2 separate regions of the Homo sapiens genome follow, and region 2 is linked to region 1. The links are contacts of gene promoters, found by promoter capture Hi-C in blood cells and fetal thymus (Javierre and others, 2016). All regions are on one chromosome and are shown on one strand. The core of a region is centred on a gene start or on the middle of the fragment in contact, and the rest is flanking DNA. Distances in the headings are between cores, read along the strand shown.

Region 1 (6,263 bases), core at 1,142-3,641:
GTCAGGCTCATCCCAGACTTACGCATTGAGTGTTGCTATAAGGCAGAGACAGATGCCTTCTCGAGTACGGAAATTCTTGTGTTTGAAGCCTCCAAGCATTCTGTCCCATACGTACTGCAGATGACAAAGAACAGGTGAGGAAAGGAGAAGACTGCTGCAGCTGACACTTTATAAGGGAGCAATAGAAGGCAAGCCTCTTAACGAGCGCCAAATTAGTCCCATCCTCTACCAACACATTTAATCCTCTCGAGAGCATACTGGAAAATGATGACATCTATCATGTTATCAAGTATATCAAATTACAATTTTTAAAACACATTCATTTACATAATTGCATTTAATTCTCCCAAGAACCCTGAAAGAGAGGTATAACTGTCCTCATTTTATGGGTGAGGAAAGCAAGGCCAAAGGAGCTAGTGAGTTGCCAAAGATCACACACTCACACTGGCCTCTGTTTTTTCTGATCACCCCCCAATAAAGGACAGTAGAAGCTGGGAAAGCAGGGCTGTTTTGGTCCATCCCAGCAGCCCCAATTCACCGGAAGACAGGGGCCAGGGCTCCAGCCAGGCCTCCTGACTCCCCAGACACCACAGCTCCCTCTTTTCAGAGAATTGGAGAGTCGGTTACATAAATGAGCTGAAGAGTCTAATGGATTAAAACTAAGTATATTAGATTCAATACCCCCATGTTAAATCCACTAATTTACTCATCTCATAGTTTTGTGACTTATTTAAATATCTTGCATGGGGAAACAGATTGAATGCTGTGAAAATTTTTATCTGTAATACATCAGCTTAAGTCTATGGAGTCACACCATTTGTGCAAGTACACACACACACCCTCGCACGTGCATGCACGCGCACTGGCCAGCTGACCTCAAAACACATCTCTTGCCCCTACCTGGGGATTAGCAGCTTGATCCATGATCTTTAGCAGCAGAGTTTGGTCCTGCTCCCTCACAGAGTCTTTAGCATCTCCTAGTCTGTCTATTAGACTTGGCAGCACTGAAAATCAAAATGGAAACTGATCAAATGAAACCCTATTTGGGGGTCTGTGGTCACCAAGTATTCCTATCTCAATTATGTGGGAAGACAAACCCCTGACCTAAATGATGTATCTCATTCTAAAACCACTCATCTTTGCTCACAGCTCTACTCTCCTTGCTGAAGTCCATGAAAGTCACCAAAAGAGTCTGCAAAATCCTTTGCATGGACAGATACACTATTTGTCTTCCTCCTTACCCCACGTTCCTCCAGCCAGTTCCCAACGTATTTGTAAGCTGATAAAAATGGAAGACCTTGAGAGGAAGAGTCAACAGAAAGGAAAATTTAGGTAAAACACAAGGAGAGGGGCTCCAGTATATGTGTTTGGGGGTGGAAGGAGTGGGCACTTATGAATAAATCTTAAGTTTCATCACTATTGTGTATTTTTAGTTTTACATCACGCCCATACACACATGAGACAGAGCCCAGCTCTCCATCTTCCCCGACATACCCAGGGTGGACCCTCCCACCAGTGGTCCAAGTGCACCTGTAGACCAGAGATCAGCTTATTTTAAGAGTTTGTAAACCTCTATTACATGAGATATCCCTGAATAATTCAGCTAATTTAGGAGGAAAATGGAACACTATTAAAATATCAAATGTCTAAAAGTAAAAGCTTTTTTTAAATTTGTAAACAGTCGGTGCTCATGACCTTTTCAGAAGGAGCATATTGGTCGGAAAGTTAACAGTAAAGAATACATGTGTACCAACGTAAAACAGAGAAATTCCATAAGGAAATGGTTGCATAGAGATGCTTAGTGTTTATACTACCCCCATGAAACACCGGAGGTCAGGAATTTAGAGGTATTTAAATCTATGAAATCTGTGGGTTTTGTTTCATTTTGCTGACATACTGTTTTCCCTTCAAAATAAGAGTGAACATTTACTATACATTTGTAATGACATTTACAATCAAGGTGAAAATAGTCATGCCAACCATAATCATCTGGAGAAAAATACAACTGGCTTGGTTTTATAGGATTTCTCAAGGAAAACTGCCTCTCATTAAAGGGGACCGGGGTCAGGGTAAAATATGACTTGGTTGGCACTAAAGAGTGACAGCTAATTTAGCATAAGAAATAAAAATGGCACTAATATTTCATATTAGAACACGTATTACTAAGTTCCGTGTGAGAACACAGTGAAGCCAGTACAAAGGTATGGGGGAGGGTAAGGGCGCCCGCAGGCCCAGAGGCCAGGGGAGTCCAGCTGGAAGGGAAGGCAGCGGGGCGGCCGACCCAGGCTGCGAGTGCTTAGGGGGGCTGCGGGGGAGGGCGGGGACTGGCTGTTTGGGAGGAGCGGAAGGGAGGGAGAGGGGGCTGGAGGGGAGGCAGGGTGGCTGCCGGGAGGGTTTGGGAGCCGGGGAGGCCGAGGGAAGGCTGGGGGTCTGAAGGGGCCGGGTCCGCTCCACAAGTGCCGCAGCTCACCTGTGCCGATCTGCGCCTTGAACCGATCCTGCAGCCGGGTCACCAGGGCGGACAGGATGTCCATGCCCAGCAGAACCACCTGCAGCGGGAAACACCGGGAGCCTGTTAGCAGCCGGCCTGCGGGGCAGCGCTCCCGCCCACCCGCTCCGGGGAGGCCTAGACATTTCCGGCCCAGACGCAGTCCGAGAGTCCAGACGCATGCCGACTGGAGGACCAAAGAGATTAGCACGAAGAAGGATGATCTTCCACAAAAAGAGCTATGTACAGCTATAATGGAAAATACTCGGTGAGGAGAAACGAAATAAAAGGCAATACAGCGTAGCCAAACCCGGGTTAGCTGCGGGTGGAGTTCAAGAGCGCGCCGCGGTCCCGCCCCCGCCAGCCCCGCCCCGGCGAGAAAAGCGTATGCAAATTTTCGAGCGGCCGACGCGCGGTCTTCTGGGTAAAACCGAGCCGCCGCTTTTGCGACCCTTCGGGAGCCTCAGAAAACAAAGAATTGGGGTGTCGTCGAAAGCTGTGGAGGCTGGAGGTAAGCTAGCTACCAGACCGACTAGGGCGAGGCTCACGAATTAATTACCACAACCCTACCAGGTATTGGCGCTTCCTGCTTGCAGCCCAGGGACTTTCTATTATAACCATCCTTTTCTTGGGGTTGCGCTACTGTCCAATGAGCGCATAGTGAGGGCAGTACTGCTAACGCCTGAACAACACACCCGCATCAACTAGAGCTTTTGCTTTATTTTGGTGCAATTTTTGGAAAAATGAAAACCTGTTTTCATAGACTTATCAGTTCAAACAGCAGTAATTCGTAAATAAACTAGTACTTTGTGGTTAAACCAGTAGAGGGTGCACAAGACGCGTGGTTTTAGTGTCGCAAGTAAAGTTCTTTCAGTTTTTGCGGTGATTAAACGGGAAGGATTTCAACAGAACTTCACCCCTTTAACTTTACGCCGATCATCAACTGTTCTGTAACTTCCTTATGCTGAGTCAGCCCAGTAGTCTAGGTCAAGTTTCAATAGGAGACGAAGTTTCAGTAGGTCTTTGCACCTCACATAAAATGTAATCCAGGTCGGGCGCGGTGGCTCACGCCTGCAATCCCAGCACTTTGGGAGGCCGAGGGGGGCGGATCACGAGGTCAGGAGATCGAGACCATCCTGGCTAACACAGTGAAACTCCGTCTCTCCTAAAAATACAAAAAATTAGCCGGGCGAGGTGGCCGGCGCCTGTAGTCCCAGCTGCTCGGGAGGCTGAGGCAGGAGAATGGCGTGAATCCGGGGGGGTGGAGCCTGCAGTGAGCAGAGATCGCGCCACTGCACTCCAGCCTGGGCGACAGCGAGACTCCATCTCAAAAAAAAAAAAAAAATAGTAATCCCAGCACTTGGGGAGGCCGAGGCGGGCGGATCAGGAGCTCAGGAGATAGAGACCATCCTGGCCAACATGGTGAAACCCCGTCTCTACTAAAAATACAAAAATTAGCTGGGCGTGGCGGCGCATGCCTGTAGTCCCAGCTACTTGGGAGGCTGAGGCAGGAGAATCGCTTGAACCTGGGAGGCGGAGGTTGCAATGAGCCAACATCGGGCCACTGCACTCCAGCCTGGCGACAGAGCAAGACTCGGTCTCAAAAAAAAAAAGAAAAAGAAATGTGAAATAGTGAGCTTTTTGTGGAATGGTCCAATAGTCAGATTAAACCCTTCCTCCGTATGAAGCAGTTTTGCACTGTGAGACTTCATTAAACATGCTTCCAACACAAAGCCGGGCACTGCCCAATGTTCACACAACAACCAAACAGGACGGGGCAACAGTTAGGATTTCTTGTATACAGCCTGTGCCTGCCTGCCTCTGGCGGCTGATAAAAGCAAAAACTGCAGACTTTTCTATTCAGCTTTGAAATCTACTGCTTCAAAACTGAAGGAATCTAAATTGGCCCAATAATCCCCACAATACATAAAATGTTCTTGCAAGAAACTGGCTACTTGACAATATTGAAGAAAATAATTTTTAAAACTTTTATAAAGAGAACAATTTGTAAACAGATTTTTTAAATAATATAATAATGGTATAAACACTTTAAAATAATGACTCTACTTTCCAGCTAAAAGGGATTAGGTTTCACACTATGACTTCCTTCCAGAGTACAGTATGAAGTGGAGGAGTAACTATCCTGCGGAGAAAACTGACAGACGCAACCTCAGCCAGATGGTGGAGGTCAACATCAAGTACACGTCATATGATGTCATGAAAACGGCATTTTGCCTGTGACAGTCCTTCCCAAGACCCTTAAGCTCAGTCTAAACATGAGGAAAACATCAGAGAAATTCCAATAGAGGGGCATCCTACAAAACACCTGACCAGTACCCCTCAAAACTGTCCAGGTCATCAAAAACAAGAACTCTGAGAAACTGTCACAGCAACAGGAGCCAAGGGAAACATAACAACTAAAGGTAATGAGGTATCCTGGAAAAGAGTGTGCAACAGAAAGATGACATTTTTCCTTAGGTAGAAACTAAGGAAATATGAATAAAGCATGAACTCTAGTTAATAATAATACATCAATACTGGCTCATTAATTGTAATAAACCACATTAATGTTAGATATAATAATGAGATATTTGTAATTTTTCTGTAAAAAAGTTTATTTTTTAAAAAGAACAGCCCATCACTTAAGTGAGTTATTTAGCTTTTGTCTGGTGAAATCTTAAGCTTATCTGCACAGTTGCATTACTGGTTGCAGGTAGGGGTGTTATTCATGACAGAAACATCCCTTCATACATCGTTCAAGGCTAAGGTAAAGAGGACTATTGTTTATTTGGGGGAAAGCTGACGTCAGCTTTTCCAGGATGGCAGTTTACTTGGTAGGTCTGAGCAGAGAAGGCCTCGCTAAGCCCCGGACAGTCAAGTTTCAATGCGTTGCCTAGAGGAACTGGGGAGCCTGGAAACTCCCGAAGAAGACTGAGTGGGTAGATGCACCTGAGCCCCAGAGAAATAGGACAGGAGAGGTCCAGGGTGTCAGCCAGGAGGACAGAAGGCAGTTCCAGGCACTTTCACAGCTCAGGCCCTTCTCCTGGGTTTCCATTTCCCTACTGAAGAAAGGGATACATGAAAAAGTCCTTGCCCAGAAGACCACTCTGATAATTAACTATAAAAACCTCTTTGTGCCTAACCTCCTCATCTGTAAAACATGGACAATAATAACAGCTGCCTCGTGGGTTGTTGTGAGGGTTAAATAAAGTGTGTATGTAAACTGTGCCTGGCACGTGGTAAGGGTACTTTTTTTTTCCCCCTATTTCTGCTTTCTTCAGCCCTTAGGTTTATAAAACCAACTTCTTCTGCATGGCTCACTGGAATACACAATTCTGTTTTATGGAATGAGGTGTTACCTGATTCTAAAGTCACGAATAAAAGTCAATCAAAATCTTTAAATTTGTTGTAATTTTTTTCTTCCAACACCATTAACTCTGCGTGACCCTTGACTCTGACATTTTACTTAATTATCTACGTTTGTGCTTGTTTCCCCAGCTACACTCCTTGAATGTAAGGAATACTATCATCTTGCATTTCCTCAGAATTCCCATAATAAGTAGCACAATGCTGGGTACACGGTAGGTGATCAATAAACCCTACTGTATTGATGTGAATGAGACTGGAATAGATGAGTTCTCAAGGTCCAACACATCTTCTTTATCCTACAAACCTTTAAAAGACTCTTTTGTAAAAGAGAGAAGAGGGCTGACCAGGTCACTGGGACCAACACTCCTGCCGAGCACAACTAAAAAATGCTGGACATAAAAGGACA
Region 2 (6,263 bases), core at 2,584-5,083, 290 kb after region 1:
AAGCTCCCTCCATCCATCCCTTCTGGGTGGGTGAGAGGAGGCATCTGTCACTTGGCTGGCTTTGCCACTACCACTACCCCTGCCCTAGTTCCATGCCCTTAAATAGCGTGCTCTGAGGAGGCCCTGGTTGGGAAGGCAGGTAGTGATGGTGTCTTAGGGATGCCATCCAGGGAGGGCAGGAACCACTAGTATGGTTGTCCCTCCTTGAAAGGAGTGGAGGGGATGGGGATGGGGAGCCGGCAGGAATTTGGCACCTGCCATACCCCAGGCATGCAGCCACACACTCCCCATCTTGCTTAAACCTAAGGACACTTCTGCCTGCGTGGGGGAAGGCCCATCATCACCCAGCTGGCACTCCCGCCCCAGGTGCAGGGAGCCACCAGCCCGGATGGCTGTGGGTGAGTCAAGCGTTTTGTCATGTGACCCTTCTGCTACAACTGACTGGTCCAGGAGTGGCCCCAGATTGTCGCCTGGCACAACCTGCTGAGCTAGAGCAATCGGATTCTTTCTCTCATTTTGAACTTGAACTAAGAAATGAGGAAAGGGTGCTAGGTGTCTGTGGCAGAGGCTAGGATGTTCAAGTGAGGGGGGGATAGAAACCCAGCTTGAATCCTGCTGGTAGAGAGAAGAGATTAAAAGCCTGAAAAGCAATCTACAGATTCAATGCCATTTTCTCTACTGTGTTGCCTCTTCCCTCAAGGCTATTCCTATCAAACTACCAATGTCATTTTTCACAGAATTAGAAAAAACTAGAAACTCAAAAAGAGCTTGAATAGCCAAAGCAATCCTAAGCAAAAAGAACAAAGCTGGAGACATCACATTATCTGACTTCAAACTATACTACAAGGCTACAGTAACCAAAACAGCATGGTACTGGTACAAACACAGACACAGACCAATGGAGCTGTCCTTGGTGGTCTGCACAGTTTACTATGGGAAATGTAACAGGGCTGTGTTTAGTAGTTTCTTTTTTGTGGCTCCATATTTAGAGCCCAATGCTGGGGCCTCAGATCACAGGACTTCCTCCTTGGTGAAGAGATGAGGTCTTTCATTGAGGTTTGTTTGCTGCTGTAGGGAATGTGAAACATTTGATGGAAGAAGCGCTTTAGCCAGGCAGGAGCCCTTTCCTTCCCCCTGGAGAAGAGTTCCAGGGAGGCAGGTGAGCAGCAGTCAGAGTGGGGGGTCTGGGCTTGCCCCTTCAGCAGAGTCCTGGGAATCCTGGTGCCATTGGGGTTGGGAGGGCAAATGTCCAGTAGCTTGAGGAAGAGAGTAGCAGAGGGGTTAGCCCTTCTCTCCAGGGTGGACTTTCTTGTAGGCACCCCTTCTCTGCACTGGCATGGAGCACCTGCATCAGGGCAAAGATGGTGTTGGGGGCAGAGAGAGGGCCTGAGTCAGCCTTCCTGGATTGCTGGGGCTCCCATGTGACATGGCTGTGACCCCATGTTCCTGGGTCCTTATGGAGGGGCAGCTGAGTGGGGAGCAGTGGAAATTCATGGGGGCAGGGGTGAGGTCCTAGTGGTGCTGGTGTCTGCCCATCTGCCCTGTGCCCTGTGCCCTGTGCTCTGTGCCCTCTGCCTCTGGGGCTGCAGCTGGCTTGCAAATCGCAGGCATGCTCAGATGGACTTTCTGGCTCTGCCACTCCCATTTCAGCATCCTCAGTTTCCTCCAGCCATCACAAGTGCTGCGTGCCAAGATTTTTGGGTCAGCCTCCTGGCTCCCATTCTGGACCCACAATTAAAAATTGACAAGAGAAACCCCCTGCCCCTTTGCAGGTCAGCCCTGGGTTCTGCAGCCAGGAATTCAGCTTCAGGCACCATCCACAGGGATGCCTGGGAGGAGAACACGGTTGTTTTCCACAACATCAACCTCTAAGAGTCAGGGATGCTCCTTAACAACCTGCTGTGGATGGACCAGAAATTTATTTAAGCCCTCCCTGAACCTGTTTATGTTTCATTAAACTCTTTTATTGATCCTCTTAATTTTCCTTTTGCTGATTTACTCTGGGCCTTGACTTCACACCCCTCTCCCTGGAGTTCAGGTTTCAAGGGCTTCCAAAGTGTGTCTGTACCCCAGGCCCCAGCCAAGGGCCAGAGCTGCAGAATGGGCCTTCTGTGCCCTTCTGCCACCTTCAGCAACTTCCTCTTTCTGCTCTTCTAGAACCCACAGGAAGGTCAGGTCTGCCTCTCCCCTGCCTCCATTCAACCTTTGCCTTTTAAATGCTTAACCCCAAACAATGAGTCTTTGGTGGAGAAATTTCAGACTGCTATTATCTAGTGGTAGAGATGTTTTGGGGCGGGAAGACCTTTAAACTCCACTTTGTATGTGGCTCTCTAGTGGCAGAAATAATGTTCATTAAAGCCACAATCCATTGAGAGGGTGGGGAGGTTGGAAGTTTGCAGAATGACTGCTGGACCAGCTTGGGAAATTTACAGATGACCTGTTTCAATCCATTCTCATTTGCTCACGCAAATTGGGTTCCGTTTATACTTGGCATTGGAAAAAAGAAAGAAAGAAAATGAGGGCTTGGTATGTGGCTGTAGCAGACAGAAAGAAAAGGCTTGGTGACCATGTGGTGTTTGCCATTCTGTTCATTAGACCAGGAGAGAGGTTTCCTGGTCCTGCTCCTCTGGCGTGGTTACTTCTCTCTCCTTGGTATATTTCCTTTCCAGCACCATTTAGGAATGGGGTTTCTAATTAGGGGAAAACTTAAAAAAAGTTGATTAAAATATAGTTTTCTTTTTCTATTGATTTATCTAAAATCTTTATGTATTTGTAGTGGAAGGGTTTTGTGTTAGCTTACTTCACCATTTTGCTGAACTAGAAATTCTCTGCTTCTATTTTTCTAAGGAAAGAAGTACATACACTATTCAGTAAGAATATTTTTCATTGTTTATTTTTTAGTTTCAGTACTTTTAGGGGTACAGGTGGTTTTTGGTTACATGGATGAGTTCTTCAGTAGTAAATTCTGAGATCTTGGCGCAACCATCACCCGAGCAAGTGTACACTGTACCCAATATTTAGTCTTCTATCCCTCACCCCCCTCCCAGCCTCCTCCCGCTCAGGCCCCACAGTTCATTATCACTGTGTATTTTTGTATTCTTATAGCTTAGCTCCCACTTATAAGTGAGAACACACACAGTATTTGATTTTCCATTCCTGAATTACTTTGGTAAGAAAATTCTTAATACAAGGCTGATCAACCCATGTTGCCTTTTTTTCTTACTCTCTCAAAGTTACAACCCAAATTGAAAAATACAAGCTCTTCTCCAAAGAGGTGGACTGATCCCTAGACAGGGGCTAAGAGGCCCGTCTTGACTCCCCTCTCGTTTCTGTGTTCCAGTTCACCAGCCGTGTTCCTGCGGGCCTGAGCCGCTCTGGTCTGCTACAGGCCACCCGGCTTGCACCTTCCCTCCCTGAGGCCCTGATTCTTGCTTCCTGACTGTGAACTTCCTCCTGTCATTTACAGCTGGCTGTGCTTCACATTGCACACCTGGTGGGGTGGGGTGAGGGGGTGCTTGAAAATTGCAGACACTGTAGATCAGGAGAGTGACTGTTACAATTTTGGCAGATGGTAGGGAAGTGTCTTGTGGGAACCTTTTTTGTAATTTGCACCAAGTCCCCATTTGGGATAGTGTTGGGGCTGCTCAAATATTTCTTTAAGTGTGCTCTGTATTGATTTCCGTGGAGTTTTGCTTCTTCAGATACGCTCTGTTAATTGCTTCTGTTAGGTAGCGGCAGCAGCAACAAAAACAAACATTAATGAACTCCTAATAACATCTATTATTAATTGCTAACATTTACTAAGTGCTTGCTATGGACCAGACATTGTGCTAGATGCTTTTAAAATACAGTGTTTTGTTGTTGTTGTCATTGTTGTTGTAGAGACGGGGTCTCCCAGTGTTGCTCAGGCTGGTCTTGAACTCCTGCGCTCAAGCGATCCTCCTGCCTCAGCCTCCCAAAGTGCTGAGATTACAGGCGTGAGCCACCACACTTGGCCTTTAACTTACTTCAACCTACAAGGCAGTGCCAGTGTGAAACCCATTCTACCACTGGGTGCCAAGGTGTGACAAGGCGATGTAACTTGCCAGGCACTGCAGAGCAGAAGTGATGGAGCTGGTATGAAGCCTCCAGCTGTTTTACTCCAAACCCATGTTTTCTTTCTGCTGTACTGGGTCCCTGGGTTCAGAGATGAAGCAGCTCTCAGTCATGTAGGACACATTCAAGCCAACTGTTCCCATATAAGGAGCTACTGGCTATGCTGGGGTTCCCCACCGGGCAGTGGGATCCCAGGAGAGGGAGAACTGCAGTAGCTGAGGGTGATCAGAGGATGCTTCACAGAGGAGGGGACTTGTTCCTTTACCTGGGTGTGGCTTCCACTCTTTTTCATCCCCTACAGCCCTGCATCTCTGCCTGAGTCTGCCGCCTCTGTTCCTGGGTGCGCTCAGGGTTCAACATGGCGGACACTGGGGAAGATTATATTTTCCAATGGGCTGGAAGGGTGAACTCCTGACAGGGATGCAAGCTGAAAAACAAGCTCTTTACCAGATAGAAAATGGACACATGGTGATGCTTCTTGAATAATTCCATTCAGCAGCCTCCTGGGATCCGTCGCCCATGGTTTTATAAATGGTCTATCTCACAACCCACTCTCAGATGGGCCACCTCTGCCCCTCAGGCTGGCCCTGGCTGCATCTACAAGTTCTATGAGTCCCCAATTAAGAAAACAATAGCTCTCTTTTCACTGAAGCCCAGAGCTGTCAGAGTCCTTTTCAACACAACAAGAGATTCATCAGCTTCCAATCAAGGAAAATTAATTTATGTTTGTCCCAGTGTCCTGTAGCATTGGATTTCAAATAATTGTAAACAAAATGAAAAAACTCAGGCAGCTCTCTGTTTCTCACTCAGTTCTCACCGTCAGTGGGAAGCTGCTCACATAAGAGAAATAGTTGGCTGTCCTTAAACTTTGGAAAACACCACCAAGGAACCGTGTGGCTTGATGCCACTGGGCTTAGTGTCAGGAGGGTTGAGTCTTGGTGGAGGTAGGAGCATCACCCAGTCAGTGGATGACATCACCACCACTTGGTGACGTATTGAGATGCCCCAGGGGACAGAAGGAGTGGAGCCAGTGACCTCAGCAGGCACCGAGAACACTGTTTTAGGGGCAGCATTGCTAGCCATCCCCCACAAGAGGACATGTGTTGGAAACAGCACTGTGATCAGGGTTCTGGATACCATCCTGCCTCTACCAGCGAAGTCAAGTAGCCCTGGGGGCTTCTGCTTTCCCATCTGTAAAGTGAGAAGATCAGCCTGTAGCTCTGTCCAGGAGATGCCCACAGCCTTGTCCCTATGGCTGTATTAGTGCTGATTCAGCTTTTGCTGTCTAGAAGCCTACAGGCCTTTTTTTTTTTTTTGAGAAAAGACTCACTCATGAAGCAAGAGAACAGTATAAAATGATGGATAATCCACTGTTAGTTTGGGTGAGGGAGATGGAAGATGCAACCGCTTTTCAAAAACATTCAAAAGTATTTTCTTTAATTTCTGAGTGGTAGGGAAATTGGGTATATTTATTTTATCACACATTTTATTATTTATTTTATTTATTTGAAGCAGGGCCTCATTCTATCACCCAGCTGGAGTGCAGTGGTGTGATTATAACTCACCGCAACCCTGGACTCCTGGGCTCAAGTGATCCTCCTGCCTCAGCTCCCTGAGTAGCCAGGACTACAGGTGGGTGCTACCATACCCAGCTAATTTTTATTTTTATTTTTAGTAGAGACAGGGTCTTGCTATGTTGCTCATACTTGTCTTGAACTCTTGGCCTCAAGTGATCCTCCCACTTTGGCCTCCCAAAGTGCTGGAATTATAAGTGTGAGCTATAATCTGTGCCCAACTTTTTATCACACATTTTTGCATTTTCTAAAAGAATTACAATCACATGTAAGGCCTTATGAAATCCTTGTCTACCCTAAAGTCATAAAGGTTTTCTCCTATATTATTTCATAGAAATGTTGTTTTACCATTCACGTGTAGATCTACAATTCATTTGGAATTGCCTTTTTTTGGTATGGTGTGAGGTAGGGGTCAAGGTTTATTTTTGCACTGCAGCACTATTATTGCTGTAAATCAGGTGTCTGTATGTGGAGGTTTCTCCTTTGTCTGATTAGTCTGTTTGTCTATCCTTGCGCCAATACAACACTGTCTTAAATGTCACAACTTTCTTAAGAAGGTCTTGATAATCTGGTAGTGTGAGCCCTCCAACTTTG

Evidence for each region. Contacts are between HindIII fragments. The CHiCAGO score rates a contact against its expected background, and 5 or more counts as called.
Region 2: a fragment that was not itself captured here is called in contact with the fragment with the promoter of CLASP1-AS1 in region 1 in 1 of 17 cell types (neutrophils); the score reaches 6.0 in neutrophils.

What each region holds. Positions count from the first base shown.
Region 1 is chr2:121,527,777-121,534,039 of GRCh38, forward strand. CLASP1-AS1 (CLASP1 antisense RNA 1) reads left to right here and starts at 2,392. Exons shown (of 2, transcript XR_001739683.2): 1 at 2,392-2,999; 2 at 4,602-5,890. It overlaps CLASP1 (cytoplasmic linker associated protein 1), which reads right to left. Exons shown (of 41, transcript NM_001395891.1): 3 at 2,471-2,549; 4 at 901-1,004; 5 at 23-114. It overlaps RNU4ATAC (RNA, U4atac small nuclear), which reads left to right and starts at 3,104; the gene lies at 3,104-3,233. RefSeq lists a silencer at 2,262-2,461 and an enhancer at 2,652-2,781. The HindIII fragment of the contact is 3,511 bases long and covers 1,658-5,168 here.
Region 2 is chr2:121,816,597-121,822,859 of GRCh38, forward strand. No RefSeq gene overlaps it. Among named protein-coding and RNA genes, the nearest start is that of LINC01823, 29 kb to the left of the region's middle. The HindIII fragment of the contact is 9,150 bases long and covers 1-6,263 here.